Linked DNA regions of Homo sapiens: regions 1 and 2 are each linked to region 3. The links are contacts of gene promoters, found by promoter capture Hi-C in human tissues and cell types (Jung and others, 2019). All regions are on one chromosome and are shown on one strand. Each heading gives the region's core, a stretch centred on a gene start or on the middle of the fragment in contact. The rest is flanking DNA. Distances are from core to core; before and after follow the strand shown.

What was found. The method cuts DNA at HindIII sites, captures the fragments that hold promoters and counts their contacts. A contact is called where the count stands out against the background at its distance.
Region 1: a fragment that was not itself captured here is called in contact with the fragment with the promoter of ZHX1 in region 3 in 1 of the 25 tissues and cell types used here (spleen).
Region 2: a fragment that was not itself captured here is called in contact with the fragment with the promoter of ZHX1 in region 3 in 3 of the 25 tissues and cell types used here (hippocampus, lymphoblastoid cells and mesenchymal stem cells).

The regions. Positions count from the first base shown.
Region 1 is chr8:122,775,542-122,779,000 of GRCh38, forward strand. It overlaps ZHX2-AS1 (ZHX2 antisense RNA 2), which reads right to left. Exons shown (of 2, transcript XR_007061082.1): 2 at 2,343-2,656. Among named protein-coding and RNA genes, the nearest start is that of ZHX2-AS1, 4.3 kb to the right of the region's middle. The HindIII fragment of the contact is 3,632 bases long and covers 354-3,459 here.
Region 2 is chr8:123,725,158-123,728,835 of GRCh38, forward strand. The region is part of intron 1 of ANXA13 (annexin A13); the gene reads right to left. All of the region lies in intron 1 of LOC105375739 (a long non-coding RNA gene), which reads left to right. Among named protein-coding and RNA genes, the nearest start is that of ANXA13, 10 kb to the right of the region's middle. The HindIII fragment of the contact is 8,461 bases long and covers 1-3,678 here.
Region 3 is chr8:123,272,848-123,276,372 of GRCh38, forward strand. ZHX1 (zinc fingers and homeoboxes 1) reads right to left here and starts at 1,439. Exons shown (of 4, transcript NM_007222.5): 1 at 1,370-1,439. ZHX1-C8orf76 (ZHX1-C8orf76 readthrough) reads right to left here and starts at 1,439. Exons shown (of 6, transcript NM_001204180.2): 1 at 1,370-1,439. RefSeq lists silencers at 696-1,063, 1,100-1,299, 1,500-2,189 and an enhancer at 2,670-2,789. The HindIII fragment of the contact is 11,288 bases long and covers 1-3,525 here.

The DNA.
Region 1 (3,459 bases), core at 920-3,419, 500 kb before region 3:
AGAGAGAAAGTGAGCTCTCCGGTGTATCCCTTTATAAGGGCACCAATCCCGTTAAAATGGGAAAAGTTCCCTTGTCCCCCTCGCAGGGCATGCAATGAGGGTGTGGTTCGCTTCTTCAGTGCCCCGCTACTCAAACTTCTACAGGAGTGTACAGACAGGCAGGCCATGAGGCTTCGATCCCACGGCAGTGCCTAGGGGTGAATGTTTGTAGCTCCTGAAGCCCCAGTGGGTGTGTGTTACAGGGTGCTCTTTTAGTTTAGCTGTCTATAGGCGGCTTGTGTTAACCAGCTCAGTTAGACCCCCTTCCTTATCACAAGGACAGAGGGATTTCTTTATTCCAGGGTTTCTTGCCTTGGTGTACCAGAAGAATCTGATCACACGTGGGCTTGGAGAATGAGTGCAAGGTTTTATTGAGTGTAAGTAGCTCTCAGCAGATGGGGGAGCCAGAAGGGAGATGGTTTTCCCCTGGAGTCAGGCTGCTTAGCGGCCCAAATCTTCTCCAACTGCCCCTCTCATCTGGCTGCCTGTGTCTACCTGCTGGAGTCTGGGGTTTTTATAGGACCAGGATGAGGGTGTGGCGGGCCAGGGTGGTCTTGGAAAATGCAACGTTTAGACACAAAAGCAGGAGTCCTCACCTAGCCTAGTCCTCACAAAAGCCTGTCCTCACCTAGGTCTGTAGGGGTGGAGCCCTGGCCAGGGACCCACATTTCTCTACCCAGCACTCCAGTATCACTATCAGGAAGGCCCCACCTTCATGATCTAATCACCTCCCAAAGGCCCCGCCCACTTCCTAATATGATCACATTGAGGATTAGGATTTCAACATATGAATTGGGGGGCAAGGGAGCACAAACATTCAGCCCTTCAACCCGTGGCACTGATTCTTATGCTCTCAGAGGGAGCAACATTGTAATAGATTCATACATGAAGAACTGTGACAGGCAGCCAGGTGTCAGCAGTGTGAAACATGTACCGCTTAAGTAGCATGTGTGGCCATGAGATGGTTTTAAATGATGTCCAGGTACAGCACAAAATAGCTCTGACTCAGAGAAAGTTACAACTTTCAATTCTCTTCCCATCCTTTTAATTAGCTCAAGAAAAAATTCTCAGTTTGGTGCTACCCTGTCTCTAATAACCTTCTAACACCTTTCCCCTCCATCTCTACCTTCTGCAAATAAGAGTATCTAGCTAGCTCAATAGTGCTGTTTTTTTTTTCCCATGGTTATTTTCACTGTTACCTTTCATTGGTTCATTTGAAAATTCAATATTGGATTTTCTTGTTTCTATTGTGACAAAAGGCTTCTTTAGTATTAGTATGAAATAAGTGCATTTAAGTTTTAAAAATGTGAATCAATGTAAATAAAATGTTTTCTTTTTTTTTTTTTTTTTTTTTTTTTTTGAGACAGAGTCTAGCTTTGTCACCAGGCTGGAAGTGGTACAATCTTGGCTCACTGTAACCTCTGCCTCCCCGGTTCAAGCGATTCTCCTGCCTCAGCCTCCTGAGTAGCTGGGATTACAGGCACTCACCACCACACCTGGCTAATTTTTTTTTGTTTTTAGTAGAGATGGGGTTTCACCATGTTGGCCAGGCTGGTCTCAAACTCCTGACCTCAAATGATCCACCTGCCTCAGCCTCCCAAAGTGCTGGGATTGCAGGTGTGAGCCATGACCCTGGCCAAATAAAATGTTAAATTAAAAATACTATAGGTAGTTCCTTTGCTACTGGGACAAAATTGGTGAAGGGGGTTTGCACATGAGTTAATTTGCAAGTCACAAGTATAGTGGGAAGCAGGCAGGATTTGTAATCAATCAAATGTGGGCTCAAGACCTGCTTCTAACTTATCAGCTGTATGGCCCATGGATAATTCATAAGCTTCTATAAACTTGTTTTCTCCCACAAATTAAGGAGACAATATACTATTCAGAAGGTTGTTTAAAAGATTAAATTACATAAAGTATAAGAAGCACCTCCCAGGCAGCCATGTACATGGTGGGCACTTGCACTCCCTATCACAGTGTATATCCTTAAATAATGGAAACCTCTGTTTTTGGCAACACCAAACAGGAACTTAACTCCAGTACCTACTGAGTATCTATGCTTGATAAATGAGTTCTTATTTGCTTAGGATCTGGGACCTGTGGCGCGGGATCCTTCATGAGCAACAACTAAAATCAAGAAAAGCTTTGATTTGGAGAGTGGGCCAGCTCAGGCATCATGGACCAAGAGGCCTCTCTACCCCTTGTCCTGGCCTCCAATATTTCACAATGCTACCTATACCCTGCAGAGTTCAGGGGGAAGTAGATCTGAAATATTCAGATATATGTGCAAATAAAGACACGGATAATAACTCCCATTTTATTTATCTATCACTGTGTAATAAACCACCCCAAAAGTTAATAATGTTAAACAACTACAGTCTTATGATCATCTCATTATTCTGTGGGTTGACTAGGTGGAGCTGGATGGTTTTCCTCTACATAATGTCAGGTGAGACTAGAGTCAAGTGGGAGATCGATTAGGCTGGAGCATCCAAGATGGCTAAAGTCTGTGTATTAATCAGGATCTCAGGTGGAGCTATTGTCCCTATCACCTTTGTTTTCACTCCATGTGGCCTCTCCATGAAACTTCGGCTTCTCACAGCATGGCAGCAGGACCCTAAAAGGAAGGAAACAGAAACTGCCAGTCTCTTAAGACTTGGATTTAGATGTCTCAGAATATCACTTTCATTGCATCCAAAGCAATCACAGGACCAGTCCAGATTCCAAGGGAGGGGAAGTAAACTCCACCTCTTAATGGTGATGTATTTTTCAAAAAAGGAAGGAAAGGATTGAAAAAAGCCATCTTAGAAGACTACCACACCTCCTAAAGCTTTCACTTTTTGCAAAAGGTTTTTATTCTTGAAATGTGTGTATATTTCAACTAAGCAAATATGTACCTAGGAATTTATCCTAAGGAAGTAATCGCAGATGATTCAAAAGATCTGACACAAGGTTGTTCATTGGAATAAAATTGAAACTACCCAATGCCCAACAACAGGGGACCAATTAAGTCCAAAGGTGGTTGAGGACAGTGTTTTAAAAGTCTATTCTCTGGGAAGCAGGTAAAATTAAGCTTAAATTCCAACTCCATTACTTAGCATCTGTGTGATGTCGAGCAAGGTACAGTACTTAAGCTCTTTAAGTCTCAGTTTCTATATCGGTAAAATAAAGACAAAATATAGATTTTTGTGATGATTCAATGAGATGATACATATAAAAGGCTCAGCACATGGTAAATGATCAATAATTGTGAACTGCTATTATTATTTATGATAGTCCTTAGTGCTATCATATTAGTGCAAATCTTTCCCATTCTCTCCATTTCCAGGCACACAATACTTCCATGGATCTTTACAGTTAACTTTGTGTTTAGTTCTGACCAATGAGTTGTAAGTGAAAGTGGCATACGTTACTTCCTGG
Region 2 (3,678 bases), core at 69-2,568, 450 kb after region 3:
TTATGGTATCAGTATAAAATTTCCTTTTAAGATTAATTTATATTAAAAAGTGCGTATTTAAAAATAATTAATAGAATAATTAGTAGAAGAGGTAACCCATATATTTGGCAACAATCATGAAGGTTGTACTTAAATCTGAAGTTTGGGAGACATTGAATGTATCCAATCCCATCATTTACAAATAAAGAAACTGAAGCCTGGTTGTTAAGTCACCTGCTCAGGGTCACCTTATGGAAACATCCATCTCCTATCTCTCTCAGAACAATGTTCTTTTACCTCTAACCGGTTACTCATTTGCACTTTGAAGCCAGTTAGTATGAATGCAAATTATTGTACTTTTAACATTCATGAATTCAGAGCCAGAAAATATCCTGGTGACATTTCCACAGACATGGTTAGTAGAGATTGATGAGCAATTTGAAACAAAATAGAGGGGCCATTCACATCTGAAGCATGAATCTTGGGTGATTAGTGACATATTGGTTTCATTAAGTCATAAAACTACCCAACAGAAAAAAATATATTTGGCAGTATACCCTGTTGGGTATATTTAAGCACAGTTTGAATACGAATATTTGGTATTTCATCATGTAGTTATTGCTGTTTTCATTAGGATTCTCCAGGATCTCACACCGACTAAAAGCAAGCCAATTCCTTCATGCCTAGAACCTCTTCCCACATTAGAAGTTTATTAATCTGCGGGGGTTGATCAGAGAGCTGTTGGGAAAGTGTGTTAGGAAACTTGAGCTCTGCCCACCTTAGTAGGGTGCTGGAATGTTACAGAGTTGTTCATTGCTGTTGATACCTCCTTTCCAAGATGCAGTATTACAGTGACTTACATGATGACTAAGTGTTTGGCTATCACTCTAAAGGGGCAGAAATATTTGTATCATTTAACAACTAAAACTAAAACTAGAAAAACATCCATTTGGATCACAGCTCAACATGATTTGCTTGCATATGTTGACTGTATGTTCTGAAAAATGAGTTCAGTTCTTTAGATTAAAACATGACCTTTCTATTACATTTGGGATTGCTTCCATGTTGGCATTTCAGCACCTTTTAATGAAGATTGGTATAGTTAGGTCATTTTCCAGAAAGACAAGCTTCCTTAGGCTATGCCATCTGGGTTACACGTGTTGATGTGATATTTACTTATCAAAGGTGACTGCAGGGCTGGGTAGGAGTTAGGAGACCTGACTTGAAGGCCCTTCAATATGCTGTGCCTTAAACTGGTGGGCACCATTGTACCTGAAGGTACTGATGGTATCCTCAGGAGTGTAAACAATGTGGGCATCCTGCCATGCACTGAGCTGTGGTATAGGGAGTCCAAGTGGGGTAGCCCTTTTGGGGGCTACACCCAAACAGAGGAGAGGTGAGCCAATCAGCTCCTGAAGGTTCCAGCCTGTGTCTTTCCAGGGGAGCACTGCTCATCTAGGCAGGAAATCCAGCAGCCCAGCAGCCTTTTTACTGAGGGTTTCTGCAGTGAAACCCTTCTCACTCTGGTATAAGAACTACTATTTGATCCAGCAATCTCACTACTGGGTATCTACCTAGAGGAAAAGGAGTCATTATATGAAAAAGATACTTGCACATGCATATTAATAGCAGCACAATTTGCGATTGTAAAAGTGTGGAACCAACCCAAATGCCCATCAATCAATGAGTGGATAAAGAAGCTGTGGTATATATATACAATAGACTACTACTCATCCATAAAAAGGAATGAATTAATGGCATTTGCAGCAACCTGGATGGGATCGGAGAATACTATTCTAAGTGAAGTAACTCAGGAACAGAAAACCAAACATCATATGTTCTCACTCATAAGTGGGAGCTAAGCTATGAGGACGGAAAGGCATAAGAATGATACAATGGATTTTTGGGACTTGGGGGAAAGGGTGGGAGAGGGTAAGGAATAAAAAACTACAAATAGGGTTCAGTGTATACTGCTCGGGTGATGGGTGCACCAAAATCTCACAAATGACCACTGAAGAACTTACTCATGTAACCAAATACCACCTGTTCCCCCAAAACCTACAGAAATAAAGAATTTTTAAAAAAGAAGAAGTTGTTACTCATGGGCTAACAGTTTTGAGAAAAACTGCTGCCTCTTGGCTGCTGCTGTCATCAACAGGAGGATAAGGGTCAATCTTCAGGAGAAGCTGACTTTTCTCTGTTATAAGAGAAGAAATCAGTGTAGGGACATGCCTGGGCCAGAAGGGCAGGAATGGTGATTTCTGGTGGAGATCCAGTGACATAAAGACATTCTGAGGACATCTGCCCTGGAGCCTTGTTTTCCCATTTAAGCGGTGGTTCTCAATAAACCAGGAGCGATTTTTGTCTCCCAGGAGACAATTGGCAATGTCTGGAGACATTTTCAGTTGGCACGAGTAGGGGAGTATTACTGGAATATCTAGTGATAGAGGCCAGGATTCTGCTAAACATCCTTCAGTAATGCACAGAACAGACAGCCCCCCTCCCCCCGCCCACACACACACAAATAATTACCTGGTCCCAAATGTCAGCAGTGCCAAGGACGAATGTGCCAAGGGTCCACAACCCTGGCTGAATGGTTGTAACGATTCTGTCAACGGGTCTCTTTAAAAAGTGTGGAGAAGGCCAAGCCTCTGGTGGTAAACGGCACACAGGTGCTGACTAAAGCAAGGCCTCCAGTCACCAAGGGCAAATTGCTGTGGTAACTTAAAAGGGAAGAATAGAAATGGACCATGATGTCTTACATTCTTTAATTTTTTTGCAAAGAAACCCAGATGACAAATCTGAAAGATGAGTGCTGAGATAAGGTAACTAGGAGGAAGGTGTGAGCTGAGATCAGTTCAAAGTGAGAAACCTGTTGTCACCTCCTGCTTCTTTGTCTGCATCAAGATTGTTGTGAACATCCCAGCCTATACCGGCAGGGCAACGTGCCCAAGTGACATCTCTCTGTTGACTCATTCTTAGGGGCCCTTGAGTGCTGTGTTGGGCTGGAGAACTTGGAGTTTCTAGTAGAGGCAGAATAACATTCATTATGTGGAAACAAGATTTTGTGTCCTGGGGAAAATGACTGTCTGCTTTGAGGTTGTCCACAGATTGTTTGGGGAGTTGGAGACCTCTGAAGAGTGCTAAACTTCCAGATATCCAATTACCACTGTATTGCATCAACAAAAGAGAACTTGGAGGATAAAGTGGTTGTGTGGAGATGATGGATATTTCTCAACCGTGAAAGGAACCATGCTTTCAGGAGTTATGAAAAATGAAGCACGTTTCTCATTAGAAAAGAATGATCCATTTCCTTCTTATATTGCCAAAGGTCGTCTTTTGCCAATTCAATGAGAGTATGAACATGGGATTCATTACTTGCAGGAAAAAAGGTAGCAAGTGTACTCTGGAATCCTCAAGAGTCAATGATAAGTGGGCAGATGGAATTGAAAAGTGAGAATATTGGGGGCTGAGCGGGGCCTTCATGGCATCAAATGTGCTGTGTAGCAGGATGCAGTCAACAGTATGTGGACAAGTTCTGATTTGCTGAAAAGGAAACAAGGTAAAATAGCTAAATTTGCTTTGAGCAAATTTCTGTCTCAATCAGTATCAAAACAATGAATGTTATTCTTTCCCTTGGTAGAAGAGTTTATGCATTGGATCCAAAAAAATTAATTCTTTTAGTTAATTAATTAATTT
Region 3 (3,525 bases), core at 189-2,688:
TTTCCTTTTTCTGCTATCACATTAACCTCCAAGAGAACTGCTTAAGTTACATGGAATCCCAACCTAATCACATCACGACTTCTCTCTCAGCCTTTACATTTTTCTCTCAAATATTAGCTCTTCGCATTTTTTTTTTTTTCTAATAGCTGGGCTGAGTTGACAGAAAAGGGCTGTGGAATTCCTGCTCTGTCCGATATCTTCCCTGTATTCCTCTTTTCTCATCCCTAGTCTCTGTTCTAATTCCCCCGCCTGCTGTCTCTCATTGACGCCTTCCCAGCTGCTGGATCCTTCACTAACCTAAGCTAAGGATATCAAATGGAATCTTTTCCTTCTCAGGGGCTATGCTCTTTCCTTACAGTTACCCACGGAGGAGAGAGGACAGGAAAGGTACTAAAACAAAGAATTGCCAAGTCCCTTTACCTCCAACTTTGGTGTAAATATATAAGGAAAGGGGATCTGCCAGGGCTCTTCTTTCCTGCCCTTAGACCTTGTTCCTCTCACACCTCTCCTTCCCAGCCTTTTATACCCCTTGAGGTATTAGTAGATTGTTCACTGTGGGCCCTAAGGCTTGGAGGATTCCCATGGGTCAGCCCCCACACCCCCACGCCCCTACCATCCTCTTTAATTAACTTCTCCCTAAATCCCAGGGCTTCGTCACAATCGTAATATGGTTCTTAAGGACTCAACTCCCAGTCTTTCCCAAAGTTGGGACATGGCCTGGCCCCGAAACGGGTGCGCATAGCCTTCCTTGAACTGGAGGTAAAGACTTCTCCTGAAGGGTTTGCTGGGGCTCCAACCTCAGTCAGTGCGCTCAGCTCCAGCAAGAGAATCTCTCCTTACTCTCAGGGAGACTGGGTCCCCCACGAGGCAGCCACACGCCCCCGGAGGACAGCGCTCCTGACCTCCTCTAGGACTCCCAACATTACTGGGGTGCTCCCTCCGGCGGCGCCCTCCGCTGGGAATACGCAGTCTTCACTCCTCTCAACAATCCTAAGTTGCTGGGTCCTCACCAAGGCAGGGGGCTGAGATGTTCCCTCCAGAGAGCCCCCCGCCCCCAAGCTCTTTCGGTGGCGGAGACACCCAAAAAGAGCGAGGGAGGCTGTGGGTCTGTCTGTCCCTCTGCGGCGACTACCCAGCCGCGAGGCAGGCCCCGTCCCTCCCCCTCGGACGCCCCACGCCGGGTCCACCCCGCCACCCGCCGCCGCGAGCGGGCTCAGCCCCAGGGGTCTCTGCTGTGAGGCTGCCCTCCTCCCGCCAGGCCCCGCGCTACTCGCCTTTCCCGTGCCGGCCGCGGACTCTGCGCTCCAGTTCCCACCCGCAGCCCAGAGTCTCCGGGCCCGCTGGTCGCGGAGCCGGCTCGCGCCACTACCTGCAGGGGCCGCCGCGCCTCTCAGCGCCACGCCGCCGCCATCTTGCATTTCAAACCGGCTGCACTTTTCAGGGAGTCAACTCTGACCTGTGAACCCTAAACCCGGAACCGCTCGGCGGGCCCGCAAAGGGGCCTCAGCAGCTCGGTGGCCCCGCGGAGTGTGGGGACTCAGGGTGGGGGTGCGAGGAGAGGCGCGCGCCCCAGCGGCCGTCCGGGGGCGGAGGGGGAAGGGAGAGAGCCGGCCAAGGCGGGGCCCTCCCGCGCGCGCGTCCTCCGCGCGCCCCCACCCCGTGCGGCGCCGAGCTCTCCACGCCCAGACCCTGCTACTCCACTGGGGTCCGACCCCGGCCCCTAGTCCGGGGATTGGCGCACCGCGGGAGGTAGGGAGGCGCCCCGCCCCCCTGTCAACAGAAGCCCCGCCCCAGACTGCGGAAGCTCCGCCCCCTGTCAGGAGACGCCCCGCCTTCCCAGGGCTCGAAATGGCCCCGCCCTTTGCCTGCGACCGCTCCGCCCGCTGTGGACTGAAGCCTGGTCTTCTCTCGGGTCAGCACAGAAGGCAGCCCCGCCTTCCTTGCGCTCCGCCTTCCTAATGTCACTGCTGGATCGTGAGAGGTAAGCATGCTGGCTTCTACTGAAACGCCCCTTGTCATCACACGCCCATCCCCTGGGGCGACACGACCCAGGCCCCGCCCCTCGGGGGGCTGCTGCGAGTCCGGCCGGGAGCCCAGCGCCCTGACAGAAGTCGCCGCGCCCCTTGTCAGCGGCAGCTCCACCTCTCCTCGCTTCGGACCCCGCTCCTCCGCGGGCCGCAGCTCCACCCGCTGACACCGAAAGTTCAGTTCAGCTGCACTCAGAACCGCCGGGCAAGGCGGAGCCGCCCTCTGCCCCTCAGCCGCCCTCCTCCCTGCGAACCGCCACTCGCTCTTCCAGAGGCTTCTGTCCGAGTCGAGGGCTTCACATCCCGTCGGCTTTCAGGGAACCAGCCCCGCAGCGGGGCCAGCGAGGGCCAGGGGTTTCGGGAACACTGCCCGGCGTCTCCGCCCCTCCCTACTCACTTTCCCTTTCCCCCGCACCGCGGTCAGAACGTGGAGGAACAGAACCAAAGCGGAGAGCGGCGACTCACCCTCCAGCTGCTCCACACGCCGGGCCTTGGACGCTCGAGCGCTCCTGGGCCCCTTGACGTTCACTCCCCACCCCCATCCCAGTCGCGGACCCTTTGTGCAGAGCTCCGCTGAGCCACAGTAATCCTAAAAGCACAGCAGAGCTCCGCTGAGCCACATTAATCCTAAAAGATGCAATTGCTTCAAGTGGAAGTCTGATTTTTTTTTTTTTTTTGAGACGGAGTCTCGCGTTGTCGCTTAGGCTGAAGTGAAATGGCGCGATCTCTGCTCACTGCAACCTCTGCCTCCCGGGTTCAAGCGATTCTCCTGCCTCAGCCTCCCGAGTAGTTGGGATTACAGGGGCCCGTCACCTAACGCCGGGGTAATTTTTGTATTTTTGGTAGAGACAGGGTTTCGCCATGTTGGCCAGGCTGGTCTTGAACCCCTGAACTCAAGTGATCCGCCAGCCTCGGCCTCCCAAAGTATTGGGATTACAGGAGTGAGCCACCGCGCCTGGCCGTGGAATCTGATCGTTGAAATCAGTGTTCTACAATATTCTTTTTATTTGTAGGTTTCATCCTGGAATCCTAAAACTTGTGTAGGATAAGGCTTAATTTTATAAGCAAAGGTATTCAACCCTGCCACATTCAATGCCCTGTATTTACAACAAAAAATATAACACTGCTTTACTCTTCTGGAGTTAAATTCCTAATGCAAACTATCTCTACAAATAATTTCAAGAAACCAATGTAATGTTCTAATAAAGGTGAAAAAGGAGAAAGTAGTTCATAATAAAATACTGTATGTACTAATATCAAGAAAAATTTTAAAATAACAGAGTTTTCACAATGTAAATACTCTGCCACCAATAGAATGCAAAACAAAAACTGTCCCGGCAAAATTTCAGTATGCCCCTGAGGGGCAGTACTGCCCTCGCTGGGAACCTCTTTAGACCGAGGAAGAGGTCTGGAAATGCTTCAAATAGAGAAATTCATTCTTTTGTCTACACAGTTAATGACAAGTTTTCTTTTGTTGTTGTTGTTGTTGTTGTTTTTG